2 separate regions of the Homo sapiens genome follow, and region 1 is linked to region 2. The links are contacts of gene promoters, found by promoter capture Hi-C in human tissues and cell types (Jung and others, 2019). All regions are on one chromosome and are shown on one strand. The core of a region is centred on a gene start or on the middle of the fragment in contact, and the rest is flanking DNA. Distances in the headings are between cores, read along the strand shown.

Region 1 (6,059 bases), core at 607-3,106, 100 kb before region 2:
AGTGTCCGTATAAGAGAGGCTTGAGAAAGCTTGCATGCTCCTTTCACCATGTGAGGACACAGCTAGAAGGCACTATCATTAGAAATGGGCCATCACCAGACACCAAACCTGCCAGCTCCTTGATCTTGAACGTCCCAATGCCCAGATCTGTGAGCAATAAATTTCTGTGATTTATACATTACTCAGTCTAAGGTATGTTGTTAGAGCAGCAGGAAAGAACTAAGACAGAAATAAGAGCGTCCACACAGATGTGCCAGTTATTGAAGAACAGCTGTGACCTACACTTCCAAATTAATCTTCAGCATTTTTACCACAGCTGGGTAGAAAGATAGTGGTTTTAATTTCAAAACTTGCTTTGAACAGGCCAGATGCTACAGTCAGAAACCCAGCACTGAGCAATGTCCTGACTGGTCCAGCCACAACAGGGACGTGAGCCAGCCCCGAGTGGGCCTTTGACTTGCAGCAGAGAGAATATGAGAAAGTAATGGGTGAGTGGCGGCCCTGCAACTGCTCTGCATGTTGGGACAGAAGCAAGCTGCACATTTTAGCAACAGCTTTGAGTTTCTGCTATTGTTCCCCTTCAAGGGCTCTCATCTAGAAGAATGGGTCCATGGGGTGCTGAGAAAGATCAGGGAGAAAAACAACTAGAAAAAAAAAATTCTCTTCATCTTGGCAGCCATTCATGATCACAACTTGAAAGATGACATTCAGGACAATGGTTTGGAGCTCCTGAAAAGCCATCCTGTGGGCCCCCATCTTTGCTGAAGTTTCCAGCTGTCGGGACCAGGTTGGCATGAGACAAATGGACTAAATTTGCCAGCTCACCTAGTTGTCCTTGAGGCCGGAGTCTGGACAGAGGTCACTCAAGCCTGCTGACCATGTGTTCACCTGTACTCCTGTGGTGATGGCGGGTAATGGAGCCAGCACCACCGTTGGCAAGATCCATCACTGTCTGCGTTCATTCATTGGAACATGTTTGATGCCCACAATGTACCCACCTGAGTAGGATCTGAGAGAAGCCTCCATTTCTTCTCTCAGAGTCACAGGCAAGTGGGGAGCACAGACAAGTGGGCTTCATAATGTGGTGTGATGAGGACCAGGCAGGACACCAGAGAGGTGCAGGGGAAGGACACTCAGCCCAGCCCGGCCTAGGGGTGATGCTCAAATTATGGCTTTTAGGACCATTATGAGTGGAACAGTGTTCCCTGCAAGAAAGATATGTGGGAATCCTCAGCCCCAGTACCTCAGAATGTGCCATTATTTGGAATTAGGTCCTTTACAGGGGTAATCAAGTTAAAATGAGGTCATTAGAATGGGCTCCAACCCAGTATGACTAGTGTCCTTATAAAAAAGGGAAGGTTCGGGCCGGGCGTGGTGGCTCACGCCTGTAATTCCAGCACTTTGGGAGGCCAAGGCGGCCAGATCGCGAGGTCAGGAGATCGAGACCATCCTGGCTAACACAGTGAAACCCCATCTCTACTAAAAAAATACAAAAAAATTAGCCAGGCGCGGTGGCAGGCGCCTGTAGTCCCAGCTACTTGGGAGGCTGAGGCAGGAGAATGGCGGGAACCCGGGAGAGGGAGCTTGCAGTGAGCCGAGATCGCGCCACTGCACTACAGCCTGGGAGACAGAGCGAGACTCCATCTCAAAAAAAAAAAAAAAAGGGAAGGTTTGGGCACAGGAACAGCCGCGCACACAGGGGGAGTGCCATGTGATGATTGGAGTTATGCCGCCACAAGCCAGGGACCCACCAGAGTCTGGGAGAGAGGCCCTCACACCTTCGGAGGGAGCATAGCCCTGGCGAGCATCTTGATTTCAGACTTCTGGTCTCCAGAACTGAGACCATACATTTCTGTTGCTTTAATACACCCAATTTGAGGTATGTTGTTAGGAAGGAACTAGGAAACGAATACAAGAACTCAGGGGCTATCCAGGTGGAGAAAGAGGGCTGGACACTCCCAGCCCCGGTGTGGAGACGGGGACCCTGGCGCACTTGTTGGCATAACTGAGAAACAGGAACAGGCATGTGGGGCCACCATAGTAGTTGAGGCTGAAGGGGCTGGAGCGGGAGGGGGCCCCTTTCCTTCTGCTATGGTTTAAATGTTTGTGTCTTCTCCAAAATTCCTGTTGAAACTTAATTCCCAATGCAATAGTGTTGCAAGGTGAGGCCTTTAGGAGGTGAGTAGGCCATGGGGGCTTGGCCCTTATGAATGGATTAGTGCCTTATAAAAGGGCTTGAAGGGGCAACTTCATCCCTCCTGTCCCGTCTGCTGTGTGAGGACACAGTGCTCCTCCCCTCTGGAGGATGCAGCAACAAGACACCAACTTGCAAGCAGAGAGCAGCCCTCCCCAGACACACATGGAATCTGCCAGTGCCCAGGTCCTGGGCTTTCCAGCCTCCAGAACTGTGAGAAATAAAAAGTTTATGTTCTTTATAAGTTACCCAATCTCAGGTATTTTGTTTTTGCTGCAGGAAATGATTAGGATACTCTTTCTCTACCCCTGGATGACCCCTGAGTCAGGTATTAGTTTCCTAGTTGCTGCTGTAACAAAGGCTGGAGAGGAGGGTATTGCTTAATCATGAAGACCTCGGCCTGATGCCATACTAAGGAGTGTGGGTTTTATCCTAAGAGCAATGCGAGTACAAAGGAACATCAACACAGCCCACTTGCCCCCTTGGCAGCCTAGCAGAGACTGCTGCAAGGGGAGGAGCTCAGGGAGGGAGGCACCAATGTTCTGCACAGGCTAGCACGCGACCCAGCCTGGGCTCAAGGAGGTCTGATCTCACATGGGTCTGATCTGCTGTGAATGGTGCAGGAGGCTTAATTTCACCCGTCTCCCCATGCCTCAGTTTCCTCCCTTCCGTCCCAGCCACAGAAACCACTGAATCAGATTGCAGAGGGATTTGGCCACACAGGAAAATGCTTTGACCTCTCTGAAGGAGAAGCGCCTCACAACTGTACATTTCATTATATTATCAGTGTTATTAATAAACTCTTCCCTGCTGGAAAGCCTGCTGTATTGTTTTCAACTCTCTGCTGGGAGGTCATGCTCAGTATTTGATTTCTCTCCATTCATACCTCCCCTTTTCCCAAACTGTCTCTTTTTTAAGACTCGATTTCAGGCCCACATTACCTTAGGACCAGTTTTCCCTTTGTGTTTTTCTGTCACCTCCTTTTAAAGTGACTCTTGTGGCACTTAATATGGTTTGATTGAAGAACACACTCTCTTTCCTCTGAGCCTGAGCTGGTCTCCTGGAGTCTCTCCCAGCAGCTGCTGGCTGCATTCAGGAAGGATGCACTCACTTTCCTGTCATCACCAGGCTAATTCCTTTATGCTCTTTTCAAGACCTGTAAGCCCACCATTCACAGTGAGAGGGAAGAACTGGATTCCCCCTTAGCAGAAGCTTGGAAGGATAAAGGGAAAAGCTTTATGACTATTAATATACATTCACAATTTACCAAGTGCCCAAGAGGGCACCGGCTCTGTACCGCACAGAAAGTGGCACAGCCTCATCACGATCCAGAAATTCAGAGCCATTGACCAACTAAGGGGGAGAATAAGTATATAATTTTCTCTCTCTCTCTCTCTTTCTCTTTCTCCTCCTCCTTCTTCTTTTTTTCTGTCTCTCTCTCTTTCTTTCTTTCTTTCTTTTCTTTCTCTCCTTCCTCTTATGAGGTCTCACTATATTGCCCAGGCTGTTCTCAAACTCCTGGACACGAGTGATCCTCCTGCCTGCACTGGGCCAAGCATACAGTGTCCAATCATCTCTCAGCTCCTAATATTGGATGCCATGATTCCCAAACCTGGCTGTGTCTCAGCTCCACAATCTGCAGGGTGAGGTCCAGGAATCTGCATTTTTAAGAAGCTCCCTGGGGAGACTTGAGGGCATGTTTAAGTTTGGGGACTGCTGAAGTGGTCCTGAGTGGTGCCATGATGTACTGTCCTATCAGGGATCAGAGGCATTCGATCATGCTTACCCATCTTCCTCCAGGCTCACTCTTATTCATTCATTCAACAAGAATTTTACTGAGGGGTGGCTGCAGGCCAGATGCTGTGCCACGTGCTCGATGCACCCTGGTTGACGTGCAGATGAGCAGGAAGAACATGGTCCAAGCTCCCAGAGACCCAGCATCCTCTGTGGGCACCTTGCCAAGGCTCCTCAGCTGAATCAGGGAAGGCCGGGAGCCCTGCAGGTGGGGGATAGAGTCTGTGTGGCTAGAAATGTGGACAGCTGTAGACATGGGAGGAGACAGGCTGGGTGCAGTGGCTCACACCTGTAATCCCAGCACTTTGGGAGGCCGAGGCAGCCGGATCACCTGAGGTCAGGAGTTCGAGACCAGCCTGGCCGACATGGCAAAACCCTGTCTCTACTGAAAATACAAAAATTAGCTAGGCGTGGTGGCGGGCGCCTGTAGTCCCAGCTACTCGGGAGGCTGAAGCAGGGTAATTGTTTGACCCCTGGAGGTGGAGGTTGCAGTTAGCTGAGATCACACCACTGCACTCCAGCCTGGGTGAGAGTGAGACCCTGTCTCAAAAACAAAAACAAAAAACAAACAAAAAACAACAACAAAAAAACCCTGACACTTCTGGATTTCTTGCTTTTTTTGCCTTTCTGAGACAAATATTTGCGGAGGCAGCACTTTATGGAGACCAAGTGCCTGCTGTGGGGCCAGGTTGCTCAGTTCAAGTGCCCCGTGTGTGCAGTATGGTGCTGGGCGAGTTCCTCTGCTGGATGAGGCTTCCCCAAGGGGAGAGGGTGGCATGAGCAGGACCTACGAAGTGCAAGTGGACTCTGGGCTGGACACTGTGACAGCTTGAAGAGGCGAAGGGGCAAGGCCCCGCTCTCACAGAGCTCATATTCTGGAGGGAAGAGCCCAGTGAAGACAGAGTAGTTTCGGATGCTGACACTGCCATGAAAAAATAACCCTGGAGATGACAGGACAGTGACTCCGGGGGCTGGGGGAGGGTGTTAGGGGAAACAAAGACTTCCCCTCTCCTCTCCTGGGTTCTGTAGCTGGGCCTATGAAATAAACGAACAACAGGCAGATTAACAGGAGAAAAAAAATCAACAAATTTATTAATTTTAACTATTACGTGCACAGGAGCATCCCAGGATAAAAACTGAATATCCCAAAAAGCAGTAAGATGTGAGAGCTTGTTTCCCTAGGGGAAGGGGAAGGGGAAGTAGGCCACTTAGGGCAGATTAAACAGTTTTTAGGAAAGACAGATGAGACCTTGGAAGAGTAGGGAGAAATGACAGTTTGGGCCAGTTTTGTGTGGGCGTGGTGTGGACTTCTAACATCCTGTCCGGTGGTAAGGGTCCAGTTTCTCTGGTTGATGAAAACTCCTGGGGAGGGGATTGAAGACAATGGAATTCCTTTAGGAGGATATGTCTTTAGGCAGATTAGAGGAGTTCAGAGAAAGCCTCTCCCAGCATTTGTTGGTTTTCAAATGTCTTCAGCTTAAAGTAACCAGTATACTAAAGCAGCATATTTTGGAGTGGTGTGTCCTGAACTCCTTCAGGTTGACCCCATGGAGGAGGTTCTGGCTCAGCTGAGTCCTGGCAGCCATCCTGGAAAAGATCAGGGTGGTGGGGGATGTCCCAGGATGAGAGACAAGCAGGGTGCTCACTTGAGTGCAGTGAGAAAGGGGTGAGGCTGACAGGGTGGCTCCCAGAGGCAGGCATGGCAAGACCAAGCTGTGGGTCTTGGGGTTTTGTTTTAAGTGGCATAGCAAGCTGTTGGAGACTTTTAGGCAAGGGAGATATACGATTTAATTTACATGTTAAAAATACACCCCCTCCCACCTTGTGCAATTAAAATATCACCAGCACCCACCCAAACCTGAAGCTTAGGTTGGTTTCAGACAAAATTTCAAATTTGGCCATGCACTGATGACACTGGCCCTTGAACAGTTAGCAAGATTTGAGGTAGACGCTTCCTCCGCCTCATTCTGAAAATAATGCCTAAGTCCTGTTCCCTGGGACAGGGCACTAGGTACAGGCGTCCTGTGTTCCCACCCCTCTGCCATCTGGAGGGTGCCGGTGGCTGTCAGGC
Region 2 (5,940 bases), core at 652-3,151:
CCATTTACTGCACTGAAACTTCCTATTCCAAGTCAACGTTTCACCTCCAGATTGACATCCAAGCTGAAATCTGCTAACAGGGTCAGAAAACAGTTCATAAAGGAAAGTAAGCAAAAATGTTGAACCCATTCCAGCTTAATAAAAAAAAAAAAAGCCCACAATAACAAAATCTAAGGTTCTGTGTGCTTTCCTACCAATATAAAACACAGCTTTCTCCCAGAAACTCAACCATTTTCCATAATCATGATCTTCTATTAACAACTCACATCTTTCCAAGTAGGCACATTCTCTCTGTTCTCTTATGTCAAAAGTACATAACATGGTGCAGTGATCCAACTATGGGCTGGCTTCTCTGCAAACTGTCAACATTTCTCTCCCTGCCTTCCCTTTGTTCCTAAGAGCAGTTGTGGATTGGTATAGACCCAAAATGGAAGTTGAAATATGCATTGCATCATTTGTCACATTAGCTACAAAGGAAGCAGCAGAAGTAATCAGAAATGAGGAGCAGGAAATTTCCGATAAACAACTCTGATGGTTATCTGGAAGCTGAATTGAATCACAGGCACAAGAACTTGGAATTGCATTTTGAATTGCAGAATTAGAGGTAACTGCCTCCCACCTATATGATAGTGTCAATTAATCAAAAATTGAATATAGTTTTACAGGCTTAGCATTCCATTCCATTCTGCGACATGTCAGAGAGCATTTATTTATTTAACAGGCTGACATGAAGCACATTTGGATTTGGAAAAAGAAATAATTAAAAAGAACCACCCTGGGTGGCCCAGATGTGGATACTATTATGGATGTTGATAGTATTTGGAGGTGAAATGAACGAGTTTTTTTTTACAGACTCAATATTGACCAATGAAAACATGTAACTAATGAATTTAGCCCTGTAGTCAAGCAGTTTAAGCCTTTTTCAACATAGATTAGGAAGTTAGAATGGATGCCTCTCATTGAGTTTGCATTCAGTAGAATAAGTAAAGCTTGTTTAACTCATGCATCTCTCACTGGCCGCCTCTCTCTTTAATTTGGGAATAGAAAAGGGAGTCCACAATTAATTTTAGATTGTGAGAAGAGAGACAAAAAAAGGAGCAGAGAGTTTCTGAGATAACCTAAAATCTTTGCCGCACCCCTTACTAACCCCGGTTTGTGCCCCTTCACTATGGGAGTAGCTCTTGTCATCATCTAAAAAACTTGAACTGCATTTTGAGAGATTTATTGGCCTTGCTTCTGCAGGCTCATAACTCCTTTATGTGCTTGCTCTTGGGAGGAAAAAGCAGATAGACGTTTAAAAGCTGGATGTTCCTGCACACCCCTCTCCTGATGCTTCATTCTTTTCCAGGCAGAAAGATGGTGGGACTCTGTCTCTAGCAAAGGGATATTTCCAGATACTGAGGTGTTGTCAGAGACACCTGGTCAGGGAGGTTAGGAGAAGGGGCATCCAGGTCCACCCCCTCCAACTGGCTGCTGCTTTCCTGGCAGGGCTGCACTGGGACACCTCACTTCCTTCCCACTTCCCCTTCCTCCTCCCATTCGCTGTCTCTTTGCACACCCCTAATATGGCCTTTCATAGTAAGAGGTCAATATGTTTTCACACTTGGGAAATCTCATTCAAGAATTTTTGTCAATGGACAAGTCATAAGAAGCCCTTCCATTTTAGGGCTCGTTGACGTCACCAAGAGGCGATAAATATCTGTTGATATAATTGGATGTGAGATTCAGTGTTGAGATAGCAAAATTCTGCCCCTCGTTCCTTGGCAGGGCCCTATGATTTATGCAGGAGCAGAGGCAGCACGCAATCGAGCTGTCAAGAGAGCGTCAGCTTATTAGGCAAATGCTGCGTGGTTTTTGAAGAGGGTCGACACTATAAAATCCCACTCCAGGCTCTGGAGTGGAGAAACTCAGAGACCAAGTCCATTGAGAGACTGAGGGGAAAGAGAGGAGAGAAAGAAAAAGAGAGTGGGAACAGTAAAGAGAAAGGAAGACAACCTCCAGAGAAAGCCCCCGGAGACGTCTCTCTGCAGAGAGGCGGCAGCACCCGGCTCACCTGCGAAGCGCCTGGGAAGGTAGGGAGCGCCTGGACGGAACACGCCACCAACTTTGCGTTGCCTGAGCTGCCGCGATGTGCGCCGCGGAGCCGGCTGCCCCTGCCTGTGTACGTGTGTATGCATGTGTGTGCGTGCGTGTGTGTGTGTGTATGCATGTGTGTATGCGTATGTGTGTGTGTGTATGCGCGCGTGCGTGCGTGTGTGTGTGCGCGCGTGTTCGCGGACTATTCCTTAAGATTACAATAGTAGCTGGGATGTGGCAAAAGCAAACTTAGACGGCTGCTCTTCGTTACCCGTGCTGCCAGTTGCTCCTTGCTGGCTGTGTAAAGGAGCTCCCCCACCCCCTTCTATCCTAACCCCCGAGATAAGGCAGCAAGGGCAGAAGTGGAGAGGGAGGACCATGAGGCAGTAGTTCTCAATTTGGAAGAAAATGCTGAAATATCCGGAAGGGAGGTAGTCAGCGCGGGTGGGATCTTAAATCTGTGGCTCTTCTCTAGGATCGGGAAAATTAGTTTTGAGGATCGTTAGGAAGAGGACGCAGGGACCGTCCTTTCAGAGTCTAGAAAGAAGGGTCACTCCTGGCCGGTGAGCGCATGAGCTTAGGTGCGGAGCCCTGCAGGCGCCCCCTTTCCCCGCTCCCCAGGCGCTTCAGCACCGCGGACAGCGCCCATCCGAATCACTGAGGCCAAAGCCCAGCACGTCTAAGGCAGTCCCGTAGGAAGACCCCGTGTGCACCTCCCAGCTGAGCGAACTCTAACCAACTCTTTCTTTCTCTCTTCCCCTCTCTCATTCCGCCCTCCGCCCACCTCTGTGCCGCAGCGAGTGCCCCTAACATGCGGCTGCCGCTGCTTGTGTCCGCGGGAGTCCTGCTGGTGGCTCTCCTGCCCTGCCCGCCATGCAGGGCGCTCCTGAGCCGCGGGCCGGTCCCGGGAGCTCGGCAGGCGCCGCAGCACCCTCAGCCCTTGGATTTCTTCCAGCCGCCGCCGCAGTCCGAGCAGCCCCAGCAGCCGCAGGCTCGGCCGGTCCTGCTCCGCATGGGAGAGGAGTACTTCCTCCGCCTGGGGAACCTCAACAAGAGCCCGGCCGCTCCCCTTTCGCCCGCCTCCTCGCTCCTCGCCGGAGGCAGCGGCAGCCGCCCTTCGCCGGAACAGGCGACCGCCAACTTTTTCCGCGTGTTGCTGCAGCAGCTGCTGCTGCCTCGGCGCTCGCTCGACAGCCCCGCGGCTCTCGCGGAGCGCGGCGCTAGGAATGCCCTCGGCGGCCACCAGGAGGCACCGGAGAGAGAAAGGCGGTCCGAGGAGCCTCCCATCTCCCTGGATCTCACCTTCCACCTCCTCCGGGAAGTCTTGGAAATGGCCAGGGCCGAGCAGTTAGCACAGCAAGCTCACAGCAACAGGAAACTCATGGAGATTATTGGGAAATAAAACGGTGCGTTTGGCCAAAAAGAATCTGCATTTAGCACAAAAAAAATTTAAAAAAATACAGTATTCTGTACCATAGCGCTGCTCTTATGCCATTTGTTTATTTTTATATAGCTTGAAACATAGAGGGAGAGAGGGAGAGAGCCTATACCCCTTACTTAGCATGCACAAAGTGTATTCACGTGCAGCAGCAACACAATGTTATTCGTTTTGTCTACGTTTAGTTTCCGTTTCCAGGTGTTTATAGTGGTGTTTTAAAGAGAATGTAGACCTGTGAGAAAACGTTTTGTTTGAAAAAGCAGACAGAAGTCACTCAATTGTTTTTGTTGTGGTCTGAGCCAAAGAGAATGCCATTCTCTTGGGTGGGTAAGACTAAATCTGTAAGCTCTTTGAAACAACTTTCTCTTGTAAACGTTTCAGTAATAAAACATCTTTCCAGTCCTTGGTCAGTTTGGTTGTGTAAGAGAATGTTGAATACTTATATTTTTAATAAAAGTTGCAAAGGTAATCATGACTTTACTGTTTCTCTTCAGTGCTCATACACTGGAAATACTCTCTTAGCTTCCTCCAAATTGTCTTCAGCACCAGAAAAGAAAAGCAAAACTTCCTGCATTATATTTTTCCACTAAAAATGCAAACATATGTCAGTGGCTTACACAGACCCTGCAATCACGTTGGGCTCATCTCTGTGCCATGGACTACTTCTCTGAGGTTGAGTTAATAATTCAGGAAGTTGCTCCCAGCAGCTCTAAAACATGGTAATTCTAAAAGGGAAGATCATTTTATAATGGAAATAACATTTAGCCCTGATCAATTAAAATATATGAAATAATTGGAGATAGTGGGGAAAAGATGAGGAAGAGAGAAGTGTCAAGCTAGAAATTCCTCCAAACTGTATGGCCAAAATGCTGCATTCTTTTTCTATGAGAAAAACTCACTCTGTCAAACTACTACTTTGGTACCATAAAACTATTTTTTCTAAGCTATTTTCCAATGACTACATCTAATAAGAGAAACTTAATAGCATCTCCACTTAAGACGACTAAATTTAGTCATTATAAAATGTCACATAGGAAAATTTTCTTATGAAGAACATTTTGACTTTAATAATTACACAAATATCCTCCACATTTTTGCTTATGTCAACCCTAATCACTTTTATTCTTAGGAACAGGAACTACCTTTGTTCATTTCTAAAACTGAACAGCACATTTAATTAGTTTTACAGTGCATTTGCCTTTGGTAGTTTAGTTATAGCTTTAAACAATTCAATCAAATGTTTAATACTTCAAAATTAATTTGTCTGTATGAAGATGCATCTTATCCTGGGACCCTTGAAATACACTTAACTAATGGATGAATAAGATAATACAGAACATTGAATAAATCATTATAAGACGAAGCTTTTAAAAACATCATTTATTTAAGAGTTCATATAAAGTTACACTTATGTTCTGAAGGAGGCATTATGGTGGGACAAATATTAACAAAGCATGATTTAAATATATATATATTTAATGTGTGATATGTTTGTATATATATTTAAACACATGCAATTGTTCTACAATTTACCAGATTGGTGCCACAGTGAATAAAAGAGAAAGTAGACAGCTTTTGCTGGAAGATTCAACTAAAGTGCCTAATACGTGAAAATCTAAAACTAATATTAGAAAAATGTCACAAGAGATGCCCAGGCCTTCAGCTTTCTGGACCATGAAAGTGTCACCAAATTCAAAGAACATTTCTGAATGTACATCCAGTGACATCTGTTATGCAAAAGAGGAAAACTTTGTGAAACATTTCATAGCTTTGGTCAATGATTTACTTTTTGTCCATGTATTGATAAATCAGTCACTTCTGAGTTGACACTGATTTTCACTGACCACCTGCACTGTTAAAGAGTAAAGGAAATGAAAGCTACCATAATATAATAACAAAAAGTCAGTGCCTATGAGAGACAAAAGCATAGTGACCACTTTTTTCACCATTTGCCACTTGTTAGTGACATACACATGTACCACACCTACACACCCTTCACAACATTTTCCACACAATAGAAGATTTGTATAAGATCAAGTTTATTATTTCCAGTGCTTTCTGCAACTATTTTCTCAAAATATTCTTTCCCCCCAAGATGTTAGATAAGTCATATGGAATTGCAGTTTGGGGCTATTTTTGCAGAAATCCTGTTCAGAGGTCCCTTTCATCATCTGCATAATATTAATTTCACTTGGGCTTCCTGCTGCCCACATGCATCTCAGCCAGGCAGACAGAGGGGCAGCAGTTGGAATGAATATCATTCATTTAGGGAGTTCAACCAGGAAAAGGAGAAGATATGGCGAGCTGGCTCAGAATCAGCTCCACTGCCACTCGCTGGAGCTGCAGCCTGTCCCTGGAGGGGAGGAGCCTCAAATCCAATCTGCAATGGAAGAAAATGGGAATCAGAGAAAAAAGAGGTTTGTTCT

The links. Contacts are between HindIII fragments. The study calls those that stand out against the background at their distance.
Region 1: a contact is called between a fragment that was not itself captured here and the fragment with the promoter of CRH in region 2, in 2 of the 25 tissues and cell types used here (spleen and thymus).

The regions. Positions count from the first base shown.
Region 1 is chr8:66,274,777-66,280,835 of GRCh38, reverse strand. All of the region lies in intron 1 of LOC102724687 (a long non-coding RNA gene), which reads left to right. Among named protein-coding and RNA genes, the nearest start is that of LINC00967, 86 kb to the right of the region's middle. The HindIII fragment of the contact is 5,569 bases long and covers 1-4,640 here.
Region 2 is chr8:66,174,425-66,180,364 of GRCh38, reverse strand. CRH (corticotropin releasing hormone) reads left to right here and starts at 1,901. Exons shown (of 2, transcript NM_000756.4): 1 at 1,901-2,072; 2 at 2,874-3,989. The coding sequence starts at 2,888. The coding sequence ends at 3,478. TRIM55 (tripartite motif containing 55) reads right to left here. Exons shown (of 10, transcript NM_184085.2): 10 at 4,880-5,894. The coding sequence ends at 5,772. LOC112268029 (a long non-coding RNA gene) reads left to right here. Exons shown (of 4, transcript XR_002956713.2): 4 at 405-479. RefSeq lists an enhancer at 2,946-3,015. The HindIII fragment of the contact is 9,798 bases long and covers 1-5,940 here.